4 separate regions of the Homo sapiens genome follow, and regions 2, 3 and 4 are each linked to region 1. The links are contacts of gene promoters, found by promoter capture Hi-C in blood cells and fetal thymus (Javierre and others, 2016). All regions are on one chromosome and are shown on one strand. Each heading gives the region's core, a stretch centred on a gene start or on the middle of the fragment in contact. The rest is flanking DNA. Distances are from core to core; before and after follow the strand shown. Region 1 holds the start of PET117 (PET117 cytochrome c oxidase chaperone). Region 2 overlaps BFSP1 (beaded filament structural protein 1). Region 3 overlaps BFSP1 (beaded filament structural protein 1). Region 4 has its middle 18 kb from the start of DSTN.

The links. Contacts are between HindIII fragments. The CHiCAGO score rates a contact against its expected background, and 5 or more counts as called.
Region 2: a fragment that was not itself captured here is called in contact with the fragment with the promoter of PET117 in region 1 in 7 of 17 cell types (activated CD4 T cells, total B cells, monocytes and 4 more); the score reaches 9.6 in activated CD4 T cells.
Region 3: a fragment that was not itself captured here is called in contact with the fragment with the promoter of PET117 in region 1 in 1 of 17 cell types (total B cells); the score reaches 5.7 in total B cells.
Region 4: a contact is called between a fragment that was not itself captured here and the fragment with the promoter of PET117 in region 1, in 1 of 17 cell types (activated CD4 T cells). The highest score is 6.3, in activated CD4 T cells.

The regions. Positions count from the first base shown.
Region 1 is chr20:18,136,369-18,139,362 of GRCh38, reverse strand. It overlaps PET117 (PET117 cytochrome c oxidase chaperone), which reads right to left and starts at 1,500. Exons shown (of 2, transcript NM_001164811.2): 1 at 1,312-1,500. The coding sequence starts at 1,407. It overlaps KAT14 (lysine acetyltransferase 14), which reads right to left and starts at 1,500. Exons shown (of 11, transcript NM_001392073.1): 1 at 1,312-1,500. RefSeq lists a silencer at 1,012-1,131. The HindIII fragment of the contact is 825 bases long and covers 1,016-1,840 here.
Region 2 is chr20:17,505,402-17,508,395 of GRCh38, reverse strand. The region is part of intron 5 of BFSP1 (beaded filament structural protein 1); the gene reads left to right. Among named protein-coding and RNA genes, the nearest start is that of BFSP1, 24 kb to the left of the region's middle. The HindIII fragment of the contact is 2,881 bases long and covers 68-2,948 here.
Region 3 is chr20:17,522,479-17,525,472 of GRCh38, reverse strand. It overlaps BFSP1 (beaded filament structural protein 1), which reads left to right. Exons shown (of 8, transcript NM_001195.5): 2 at 565-625. Among named protein-coding and RNA genes, the nearest start is that of BFSP1, 7.4 kb to the left of the region's middle. The HindIII fragment of the contact is 1,405 bases long and covers 852-2,256 here.
Region 4 is chr20:17,550,814-17,553,807 of GRCh38, reverse strand. It overlaps a transcript of BFSP1 not described here. Among named protein-coding and RNA genes, the nearest start is that of DSTN, 18 kb to the left of the region's middle. The HindIII fragment of the contact is 3,996 bases long and covers 1-2,994 here.

The sequences.
Region 1 (2,994 bases), core at 251-2,750:
ACTGACGTCAGATCATCTGTCATACTAAATTTTACTCCATCTCAAGTTTTCCCAGGATCAACATCTTTTACTTTTCCTTGTAAGAGGCGGAAGTCTTCTGCCTCTATTCCAAAAGCCAGCCCCTTAGGAGCACATTTTAATCCCAAATCTCTGATCTCTCCTGTGCCCTTTCATTGTTAAGTCATCTCAACCCCTCGTCAAAATTCTTGTACCATCACATGCTTCCTCTCTTCTAATTTCCACAGTCTGTGAACACCAAGAACAAAGACCTCATCCACTTCATCTCTGTATATCAAGCACATAGCACAGTCCAAAGGTCTGGGTAGGCAAATCAAGAAAAGACTGTTTACTCTTGATTCATCCAGTCCATTATTTTCACCCTTGGTGAACTAGGTTCAACCCCAATCACTGCCAAGTTGTTTTCTGAAAATTCACCAATGACCCTGTTCTCAGCAAGGTCGTGAATCACTGATAGACTCTGGAAGAGTGGAGTTTCCTTATCTTTGTATTCCCAAGGTGCTTAGTGAGGTAGCTTCCACACAGTAATCACCCATTAAAGGTCTGTCAACTTGAATAAGAAAGAAAATATGAACTGAGAGGACAGAATAGTCACTGCTGATCAGCAGGTCACGGATATTTCCTGAAATAAAAGTACCAAAAAAAAAAATCTGGAGACTGTTATCTCTATCGTTCCCAGATTCTAGTTTCCATAGCAAACTGTTCATTTAAACGAGAAGTGCAAACATCTCACCAAATTATCTTGGTCAAAGGCATGGAGAGTGAGTACGGGGAAGGGGGGCTCCCTTACCATGGGATAAAATCAATAGCACGTAAAACACATTAGGCTTTAACCCCAACCTTGGGCCAGGAGGGAGGCTGGTAGCTTGCAGAATGCACCCCAAGAAACTCCTTCCCCACCTTCTATTTTCTAGCGGCCCAAGTGAGATGTGGAAAGGTCCGCACCCTGCGGGCCGGCTGTGACTTGAAAACAGAGCCACTGGGCACCCCAAAAGCTTGCGTGCCGTGCCTGTGCGGAGCAAGGCCCCTTCAGCGCGGAGCTCCAAAGGCGCTAAGCCGGGCAGCCGGGTCGTCCTGAATCTGCGGGCTGCACACGCCCGCCGGGAGCTGCAGCGCCCGGAGCCCAGCAGAGCGGCCGCCGGCCGCAGCCGCAAACGCGTGGGGTGCAGGGCCGCGCCACCGCGGGGGAAAGACACGAAGAGGAGCTGAGGAACCGAGCGGGCAGAGACCACGAGAGGCCCCAGGTCGACGCCGCGCGCGCGGGCCCGGAAGAGACGGTCACGTGACACCGACCTGCTGGTCCCACTGCTGCTTCACATGTACGCCGGCCACTGTGGCCGCCGTCAGCAGCACCGAGAGGCCCAGCACCACCTTCGAGCTCCTAGACATCCCCACGCTGGCGGCCGCGGCCTCTCTCTCCCGCCCGCCCGAGGCGCAGAGGCCGCCGCAGAGTGCGCACCGCCGCCTGTACTGCCCAGGCTCGACCCCTCGAGCGCAGAGCCCCAGCCGTCGCGTGCGCCGCTCGCCGCTGCCAGGCGTGAGCAATCGAGAGCCGAGCATAGAGCGGCGCCCAGGCTCTACGAACTCTTGGCTTCACTAGGGGCCTCCTGCACACCCCGCAGGCGACAGCGTTAGACCACCCCCGATTCAAATTCTAGGAGTCCCGGCCCAAACTGGCCCCGGCACCTTACCAGGGTGGAGGGTGGGGGTTCCATGCCCCTCAGTCAGTTCAGTACCAACCTCACCCCGGGCGGGGTCTGGATACCGTGCTGACCCCTCTCCCACAGACGTCCCTTCTGAGCCCCTGACTGATCCAGAAGCTTCGCCCAATACCGGCTTCGCCTAAACGCAGCCCCCTCATTGCTCCTTTGGCGGGGCAGGCGCCACCAGGAGACCGCCTCGTTAGGCAGCTTCAGAGGCGCGGGGTTCCCATCCGTGGAGTTTTTGCCTGAGGACCCATTATTAAACGCTGTAGTCGCGGTCACCTGGTTTCACCTTGACGCTGTGGGGCGACTGGTCAGGCTCGGATTATTATTATTATTATTATTATAATTTTGATACAGAGTCTCTGTCTATCGCCCAGGCTGGAGTGCAGTGGCGCGATCTCGGCTCACTGCAACCTTACCGGATTCAAGCGATTCTCCTGCCTCAGCCTCCCGAGAGGATTACAGGCGTGAGCCACCGCGCCTGGCCCCATGTAATCTTTGTGATCACTTTTACACCCAAGTTTCCGCGCCAGTAATACAAGGGAAATAAATGATATAAAGAAGTCTTGCGTTGGGAATAGTTAAGCAATTGTGCAAGACGCATTTTCACTTCTTCCTCGGGTAAAAAAGGCAAGGCCTCCCAGAAACTTTTAAGTATCTGATAGAGCAACCAGTGAAAACGTGTTCATCATTCAATCATTCTTTCCCACTAGAATTCACAGAGAACGAGCTTCTTCCGGTGGACACGGCTATAGGCAGTATTGATTAAGCCTCACCAGGGAGTTTTACAACATTCATTACTGTTCATAGTGCTTTGCTATTCCAGTCTCTTATGTGAGCGTAAATGGCATAAGGGGACTATTGCTCTTAAAGGTATCTTTAAAGATACCTTTTCCAAATGTCATTTTGTCCACAGCATTTTTTGCAGCCTAGAGAGAATGTACCACTGAATTGGAAAATGGAGTTCTTGCTGTAATGAACTTTGAGAAGAAATTCAGTTCAGGGTGTATTTGCATATTTCTCTTTAAAAATTATATTAGACTTCTTTTTATTCGTGGTATATCCTAGATATTTTCCCCTGTAAATCAGTGAGCCTTCAACAGAGCTGTATGTCCTTAGAGTGTACATCAGGGAATTAGATCAATCGCCTTTCATTTTATTGTGACTAATTTTTCAACTTGTTTTCTTGAAATGTACTCTTTTCTTTATTTTCAGGATACTAGAAGCAAAAAAAAAAGTATTCTACTTTTAAGAAATCATTTATTATTAA
Region 2 (2,994 bases), core at 259-2,758, 630 kb after region 1:
TGCTTCTAGTTAGAAACGTGTTGGTGGAAAGCTCACATTTCTACCCCCACCCCTTTTGGGTGAAGCTTAATTTGAAAACAAAACAGAAAAGCCCCAAACTGTCCTGTGGCCTGTGCCTTCTTGGCTACTTGCCGGCTCATCTTCTTTGTTCCTTCCGGTTCTCTCTCTTTCTCATTACCCTACAGCAGGTCATTCCACAGGGACGCTTGGGTTAAAATACTGCACCTTTGTATGGCTCTCTAACCACATTTCCCAAACCAAAAAGTAAGTTGACATTTGGTTTGACAAGTACACATGGGGACAAGAGAGCAAAACGTGTAAAAATCGGACACTTCAGAAAGCCTGGACCATTTGGATGTTATGTGTTACTCTGTCTAAAAATGTGAAGCCACAACTAGATGTAGCGCTTTTTATTGATTTCCAGTGCCCCCATGTCTGCTCAGGATTTCATTTTGGGACCTTGGAGTTCACATCCTAATTCCCATCCCAGCACGCACCACACAAAACTCACAGTGCAGCAGCTCTCAGGGGCTGCTGGAAAGCAAACCCGGGTCTGTGGTGGTCCCCTGAACTGACGATCGCAGCAGGAGGAACCAAGTAAGGCACTTAAAACTCCTCCTTCTTGTGAGACAAACCCTGGCTCAGGGACCATGTGCCTCATCCTGGTGACTGGGGCCTGTGTGGTTTCTTCTGAGGCTCTGACAGGATAGAATAAGGGTTGTATGTGTTTGTGTACATGGGGTGTGTGTGTGTGATATACATGGTATGTGTGATATATGTGGGATGTGTATGTGAAGTGTGTGTGGTGTGTGTGTGTCATGTGTATGTGTGTGTGCTGTGTATGTGAATAGGGACGTGGATACAAGCCCAGTCGTGGTCCTAGAGACCAGTGTTTTCCAAATGGCTAGTGACAACTCATTTTTGGATGTAAAATGAACTCAGTAGAATTGACTGGCATGTAAAAGGAAGTCAACAAAATGCTAGACTAAAATATAATAAGAAAAACAGAGTGTACAGCAAGTGAAAGGGAGGATTTGTTTTGTGAAGCCCTTGTTTTATCTCTCTATATCCATATGGATATGTTGAAATACACACACACACACACACACACACACACACACACCTACCTATCTGATGTGTATGGCTCGCAATGAGAAATGTGGTTTTTCCTGGGGCGGTGGTGATAAAGTTGAAAACCACTGCCCTAGAGATACTGAGAAAGATGAAGGAGCCCAGCCTAGATGGCAAATTCCAGTTCCAGGACAAAAAGAATGTTCCTCTCTTTATGTACAGGTATTTGTTGAATATCAAAATAAGAAATTTCACAACAGATTAACCTGGTTTCTGAGAACATGAAATGAAACCGCTGGTTGGCCGCCTGTTTCTGTCCTGAGTGGCTGCAGGAGGACTTCCTGGCTTTTCCCTGCTGCCCTCGTCTCTAAAGCAGGGTCTCAAACATCTCTTCTGTGCTGCCTCCTCCACTCCCACCCGTGGCATTCTGATGGAGACCGCTTCTCAGAAAAATGATGGTAAAGGCATAAAATAAAATACAGATAATTTAAAGGAAACCAGGCTGGGTGTGGTGGCTCACGCCTGTAATGCCAGCACTTTGGGAGGGCAAGGTGAGTGGACTGCTCGAGTCCAGGAATTTGAGACCAGCCTGGGCCACATGACGAAACCCCACCTCTACAAAAAATACAAAAATTAGCTGGGCGTGGTGGTGCGTGCCTGTGGTTCCAGCTACTTAGGAAGCTGACATGGGAGGACTGCCTGAGCCTGGAGAGGTTGAGGCTGCAGTGAGCTGAGACTGAGCCACTGCACTCCAGCCTGGGCAACAGAATGAGACCCCGTTTCCAAAAAAAAAAAAAAAGAAACTAATTATATTAAAACAGTTATCAAAATATTACTGAATCATTTTAAATAAAATGACAGATGTGCTTATACTCACTCAGTAACAAGCTATAGCATGTAGCTGATGAAACACGGCTGTGTCCATTTTCTGTTGCTGCCTTGATGAGTCACCACCAGCACCCGTGTCATCGCAGTTGTGTAGGTGGGAAGTCTGGGTGGGTCCTATCGGTTTCTCTGCTCTGGGTCTCAAAAGGTAGAAAGAAAGATGTTGGCCAGCCTGGGCCCTTGTCCAGAGGCTGTTAGGGGAGAATTTGCTTCCAGTCTCATTCAAGTTCTTGGCAGGAGTGAGGACCCTGTTTCTTTGCCGGCTGCTGGCCAGGAGTGGCTGTCAGGGCTGCCCAGGCTCCTTGGCTTCAGGCCCCTCCACGTTCGGAGCCGGCAGCGAACTCTGAACCCTCTTCCTGCGTCTCATCTCAATGACTTGGACTTACACGTTTCTCTGACTTCTGTTTTTAGGGGATAATCTTGAATAAACTCCTTTCCTTAAAAAAGGGTAACTGATTAAGAACTTTAATTATATCTGCAAAGTCCCTTTTTGCCATGTAACATATTCAAGGGTGTAGCACCAAGGGGAAAAGGTCACGGGGGCCAAAATTCTGCCTCCTTAGCTCTGATGAAAACCCAGACGTGGCTGGGTGCGCCCGGGAGCTCCTGACTCAGTGGGTCTGGGGTGTGGCCCGGGATGCTGCATGTCTAGGTGTCCCTGTGATGGTGCTGCGGCTGGTCCAGGAGCCACACTGAGAACCACAGGGTAAGGGCGGGTCCCAGGGAGTGGGCGAATGTTCCACCTGGTCCCCCTGTGTCCCAGGCTTGGGCCTCATTTCAAATGTTTGTGGCTGGGTTTTTGCTGGTTTTAAAGGTTTTAGTGGCTTCCCAATGTAGCAGCTAAGCTAGAGCTGAAGGAAGATGTGGCCGCACACCGCCGGGCAGGGCCCGCTCTGTGGCCGGAACTCGGTGGAGGGCGGGCCGAGAGAGAGCGTCTGCTAGCACCAGGGCCGTGGCAGCGGGTTCCGCCTATGGTTAGGGCGTCCGAAGCTTCCCGAACTCTCCACAGCAGGGGTCGTCAGGGTGAGGTCCCCGTCC
Region 3 (2,994 bases), core at 305-2,804, 610 kb after region 1:
CTGGGAGGAGGGAAAAGTGTGCGGAGCATCTGCCTGAGTTTCCTCATCTTTAATGCAGCACTAACAATAACTGCTTTCTTCTGGGGTGATGTAAGGATTAAATGACATAATCCAGAAAAACTGACAAATTACATGTGTCAGCAAATAAAATACTATAGGAAATCCAAGTACGGTCAGGTTAATGGTGGTGTAGATTGTGCAGGGCAGTCTCCCATCTCTGCCACTGCTGCACTTGGGTTATAGATAGGCTAGGATATAATTCCCTCATCCTTGGGGTGGCTGGGAATAAGGCTGTAGGGGCTGGGGTTGGTGCCTTCGGGCTGGGAGACTCCTATTCCGCTAACTGCCCCTGGTTACCCCACGCGGTGTGCAAATGGTACCACTTTCTGATTGGGAGGCAGTCAGCTAGGAAATGCAGCATTCGTTAGCTACTACTTTAAAATTAAGACCCTCTCCTTAAAGGAGAGGGCATCGTACCCAGGTTGAATTTAATGCTGATTATGTGATCCATACATGTGAAAGCATGGTAGTTACCCAACTCTCACTTATGTGTCCAATTTGCAGGTATGAAAATGAGTGCGAATGTCAACTCCTGCTAAAAGAAATGCTTGAACGGCTTAACAAGGTGAGCGGAACACATCCTTGGGTTTACGTAGCTTAATTACAGTGTTGAATGGAATGGTGGAAGTGCAGGTTTTACAGGCTTCCTCTTTGTGTTACTTTGGCGGTCACTACTTCTTTTGCAGTCACTCTGTCTCTTGACTTGTTAATTTCAATTGAGTCTTTATGAGTGAACTCACACACCCATACACACACCCCTCTCTCACGAGAGAAACACAGACTATGAAGCTTGTTGGTTATGCTAGGCTAGCAAAACCTGCCGGCGTTACAGTGACAAGCTGCTGTTTTACTTGTCAGACATACTGATGCCCAACACCAAATTTAGGAAGGACCTTGCTTTGGGCAGTGGTTATTTGGACACAGTGATACCTCTGTCCTATTGGCTAAGAGTTTTGAGATTGCGGCTCCACAGAAGTCTCAAGATAACAGAGGAAGAAATTTCTATTTCCTCTAGAGTTCCCTCTTATAGCGTGACCAATAGCCCCAGGGGAGATGCCAGGGGTTCTTAGCCACTTGACTTTCCTGCAGGGTTATGTGGAGTTGCTCTTTACAGAACAGTGGTGATTTCCTTCTTGGGATTCTTCATCATGATTCTAACTAACTGATTGGATTTTCTGCTTTTGCTGGGAGAATCCCACCACCAAAAAGCAGAATGATTCTGGACCACCAGGGTTGTACAGAACCAGGGATGGCACATAGCTTTAAGCATGGCCCTTTTCTGATCGTTTTTGAGCTCCAATGTCAGAGCAGAACGACCCATGGAGACTATTTAGTGGAAAGGCTGCTTGATTAGGGCACATGGGCTGCCCTTCCCCGCCCCTTCCATGCCTACAACTCATCAAAATTGCTGACAAAACCGCAGACTCTTCCCTGCCATGCCCAGGTATGCTTTAGGCTTCTTTGCCACATGGAACTCCAAGCAGCCTCTTTGGACAGTCAGGGTTAGCGCCGGATGTTTGCCATCCCTTCACTTTGTCCAGCCTTTGCTGTCTAGGATTACTCTGCTGGTTGAGGGGAAAATCAGAACTAGAATCTAGGGGAAACCCAATTTTGCTTTGTCTATGTTACCTGCCCCTCTGCGCGTGAGCACGTATGATATGTTCAAACCAGGACAGTGTGCAAAAGAGGGTGCAGTTTGTAATAACACAGGTCAGTCAATGCAGGCTGGGACTCTCAGGACAGCTAGTAGGACACTTGGGCACCCTAGATAGAAACACAGAGATGGCAGTGAGAATGCACTTCAGGAAGGCCCTGAGGACACACGCTCAATAGTTGGCTTGGAAAACGATGGCCTCGAGCCTGTTGGACATCTGAGCTGGGAGTTGGGCCTTATTAGTGTCTGACATCACTCTGCTATTCTGCTGACACCTGTAGCTCATCCCCATTCTTCTGTTTTGTGCAACCTCAGACTGCCAGAACATGGCCTTCAGACACGGGGACCCAGCACCCTTCACAGCACCCCTCAGGCCCTCCGAGGCCCTCTCCCCAACACTTCCACATGTTGCTTTGTGAGCATCTGTCCTCACTTGTCACTCACGCAGTGCCATCCTGGGTACTCTTCAAATAAAGGGGAGAAAGAATGGGGTTCCTCTTTTACCCTTGATGGAAAATGACAGTGAATTTAAAAAACAAGCTTAAACTTTCTGTTGTTTTTCTCTTTTTACAAAAGCAATCCATATTCTCAGTAGAAAAAATAAGGCAACATAGATAACGAAAAATAAGGAAAAGGCATCGCATAATACACCTTCATGTATATTGTGACATAGAGTGTGGACATTTGAAGTATCAGCCCTGTAAGAATATTATGAAGGTTCTGGGGAAAGATGCTACCAAGAATGTGGGTGAGACCAGCACAGGCAATTAGCATGACTGGCCCCTGGGTCCAAGTAAGACAGTACTGCCCGCAGGTGAGCTGCAGAGCCCCAGCGAGGAGTGTAGCCTGTGACTAGGAACCTCCTGCTACAGCTGAGCATCTGTGAGACTGTGGGCCAATTGCCTTGTCCCTCTGAGCCTCGGTTTTTTCATCTGTGAAATGGAATCACAATACTCCCCACCCACCATAGGAGTGAAAGTGCCTAGTGAGAACTAAATGATGTAATAATGTATATGACTTGCCCATCACCTGGTGGTGCTGAATCCCTGATCACTGTTATTACTACAGAGCACTTGATGTGACAGACACCAGCTTGGTTTTCTCCACAGTGTGGGTGCAGAACCCTGTTGAAATGGGAGGTGACTTTAGAAAGTGCATGGAGGAGTGATATTTAATAGTTGTGAATTTTTTATGATTACCTGTTATTTACAGCGGATGACATAAAATATTCCTTTCCAAATAAACCTACGTAAGAATGAGTACCTTTAAAGACAAATACA
Region 4 (2,994 bases), core at 330-2,829, 590 kb after region 1:
TGTGTGTGTGTGTATATATATATATATATATGTTTATATATTTTTAACAGGTCTTTTCAAAGATCCCAATTCTAACTGGTATAAGATGAGCTCTCTACTAATAAATCCGAAAGGCCTTGATGATCACCTTATCTAAAGTAGTTTGCCACCCCACTTGCCTCCACTGTCTATCCTCTTTCTGTTCTGTATGATTTTTGAAGCACTTATCAGCAACTGACACACTGTATATTTGTTTAGTTGTTTACTGTCTCTTTAACCCTAATAGAATATCTGCTCCATAAGTATAGGTACTTTGTTTTCTTCATCACTGAATTGCCAATGAATTTTTCGAATGTCACTTGGCACATAGATGATAAACACTAAATATTTGTTGAAGTTGTTGATTGAAGTAATTGTTCTTTCATTGAGGATTTTTGTTTTTGTTTTTTTGTCTACCCTGTGAATTTTATTCCATGGATTTTAGTTGTTCTTGTTGAGTTTGGCATTTCATCCTCATAGTTTCTTCCCCACCACTTTCCTGAAACTGCTTTTACTCATATGACCATGGAACGTCACATTGCTAAATCCAATGGCCAATTCTTAGTCCTCATCTCATACAACATAGTCAGTCATATCTTCTCTTCACTTTGAAACACTTTACTTACTTGGCTTCCGGAATCCCACACACTCTTCCTGATTTTCCACCTACCTATCTGGTCCTTTTCAGGCTCCTTTGCTGGTTCCTCTTCATCTCCTAACCGCTGATCTCCAGAGTCCCCATGCATACTAAGTTCTTAGACTTCTTCTCTTTACTCTCTGCACTAATTCCCTTAGTTTTCTGATTCAGTTTCATGACTTTAAATATCTTCTCTCTGCTGTTGGTTCCCAAATTTATGTCTGTCCTTGACCTCTCTCCAGATTTCTGACTTGTAGATGCAACTGTCTATTCAACACTTGCCCTTGGATGTTTCATAGACATCTCAACTTCTCATAATTAAAACAGAAATCTTGATATTTTTCCCCCAAATCTGCTTCACTTCCAGTCTTCCCCATCTTGTAAATGTCAATTTCATCCTTCCAGCTTCAGATTTTATCCTTGTCTCTTCTCTTTCACATCCCACATCAGTACATTCTGTTGGTTCTACCCTCAAAATATATATAGAATTCTATCACTCCTCATTACCTCCATTGCTATCACCCTGGTCTAACTCACCATCACCTCTAAACTGGATTACTGCAATGGTCTCTTGGCTGGTCTCTCTGCTTCTGCTATTCTCAGCACAGCCATGAAAGCCATGCTGTTAAGTTGTAGGTCAGTTTATGCCACTTCCTTGCCAAAATTATCAAAGGCTTCCCTTTACTCTCACAGTGAAGCCAAATCCTTATGGAGGATTTGTAGAAATCCCGTGGGATCTGTCCTCTCGTTGCCCTTCCTGACCTCATCTGACCCGCACTCTATCCTCACCTGCCCCACTCTTGCCATGATGGCCTCTGCACCCTTCCTTGAACAAACCAGGCACATCCTATTATATTTATTCTTCCCCATGTTTAGAACGCTCTTTCTTCAAGAATCCAAATGGCTTTCCCATCACTTCCTTCCGTTCTCTACTCAGATGTAACCTCCTCAGTGAGGTCTTCTCTGACCACCCTGTCTAAAATTACCAGATGCCCCACCATCCTCCCAGTTCCCTTTTCTTTATTTTTCTCTGTAACACTTATCACCACTTATTATACTCTATTTTTCACTTATTTATCTTATTTACTTTCTGTTTTCTCCAATTGAATATAAGCTCCACAAGAACAGGGATCAGGGATTTTTATTTTCTTCTTTTTTTTTCTTTTTGAGAGAGAGTCTTGCTGTTGTCGCCTAGGCTGGAGTGCAATGGTGTGATCTCGGCTCACTGCAACCTCTGCCTCCTGGGTTCAAACAATTCTCCTGCCTCAGCCTCCTGAATAGCTGGGATTACAGGTGCCCGCCACCATGCCCAGCTAATGTTTTTGTATTTTTAGTAGAGACGAGGTTTCACCATGTTGGTCAGGCTGGTCTTGAACTCCTGACCTCAGGTGATCCACCCGCCTCTGCCTCTCAAAGTGCTGGGATTACAGGTGTGAGCCGTCACACCCAGCCTTATTTTATTTTTTTCACTTCTGTATCCCAAGGCCCAGAAGAGTGTTGGCACAGGGTAGGTTGTCAATACATATTTGTTGAATAAATACATGAATAAGATTGGTGGTGTAGATGTACAAGTGATTTCAGGTACAGATGTGATACCTAAGGGTAGCAGCCATCTGTGAGCTTGAGCACTGATATAGTTTGGATGTTGTCACCTCTAAATTTCAAGTTGAATTGTAATCCCCAATGTTAGAAGAGGGGCCTGGTGGGAGGTGATTGGATCGTGGGTGTGGATCACTCATAAACGGCTTAGCGCCTTCTCCCTGGTGCTGTCTTTGTGACAGTGAGTGAACTCTTGAGAGATCTGGTCATTTAAAAGTGTGTGGCACCTCTCTGCCTTCCTCCCACTCTCACTGTGTGACCAGACAGCTCCCCCTTTGCCTTCTACCATGAGTAAAAACTCCCTGAGGCCTCCTCAGAAGCCGAGCAGATGCTGGTGCCATGCTTCCTGTACAGCCTGCAGAACCGTGAGCCAACTAAACTTCTTTTCTTTATAAATTACCCAGTCTAAGGTATTTATAGCAATGCAAGTATGGCCTAATACAGGCACTAAGCCACATACTAAAGCCAGCAGAGTGAAGAGTTGGAATGAACCTGGGACTGAAGGCTCCACCACACTCGCCCTGAACTGCCTACCTCTGGACTGCATGTCATCATGTTAGGGAAGCAGGAGCATAGGAGAGCCAGAGTGGCACCATTTTAAAATCAACTCCATCGTAAAACTGGCAAGGCACATTTCTTGTCTATCATGACCTGTGGTTATATGATGTTTACAGCTGAGGAAACAGCTTAACAATGCCTGCAAGGATAAACTATGACAGAAAAAAATGTCCAGATGTCCT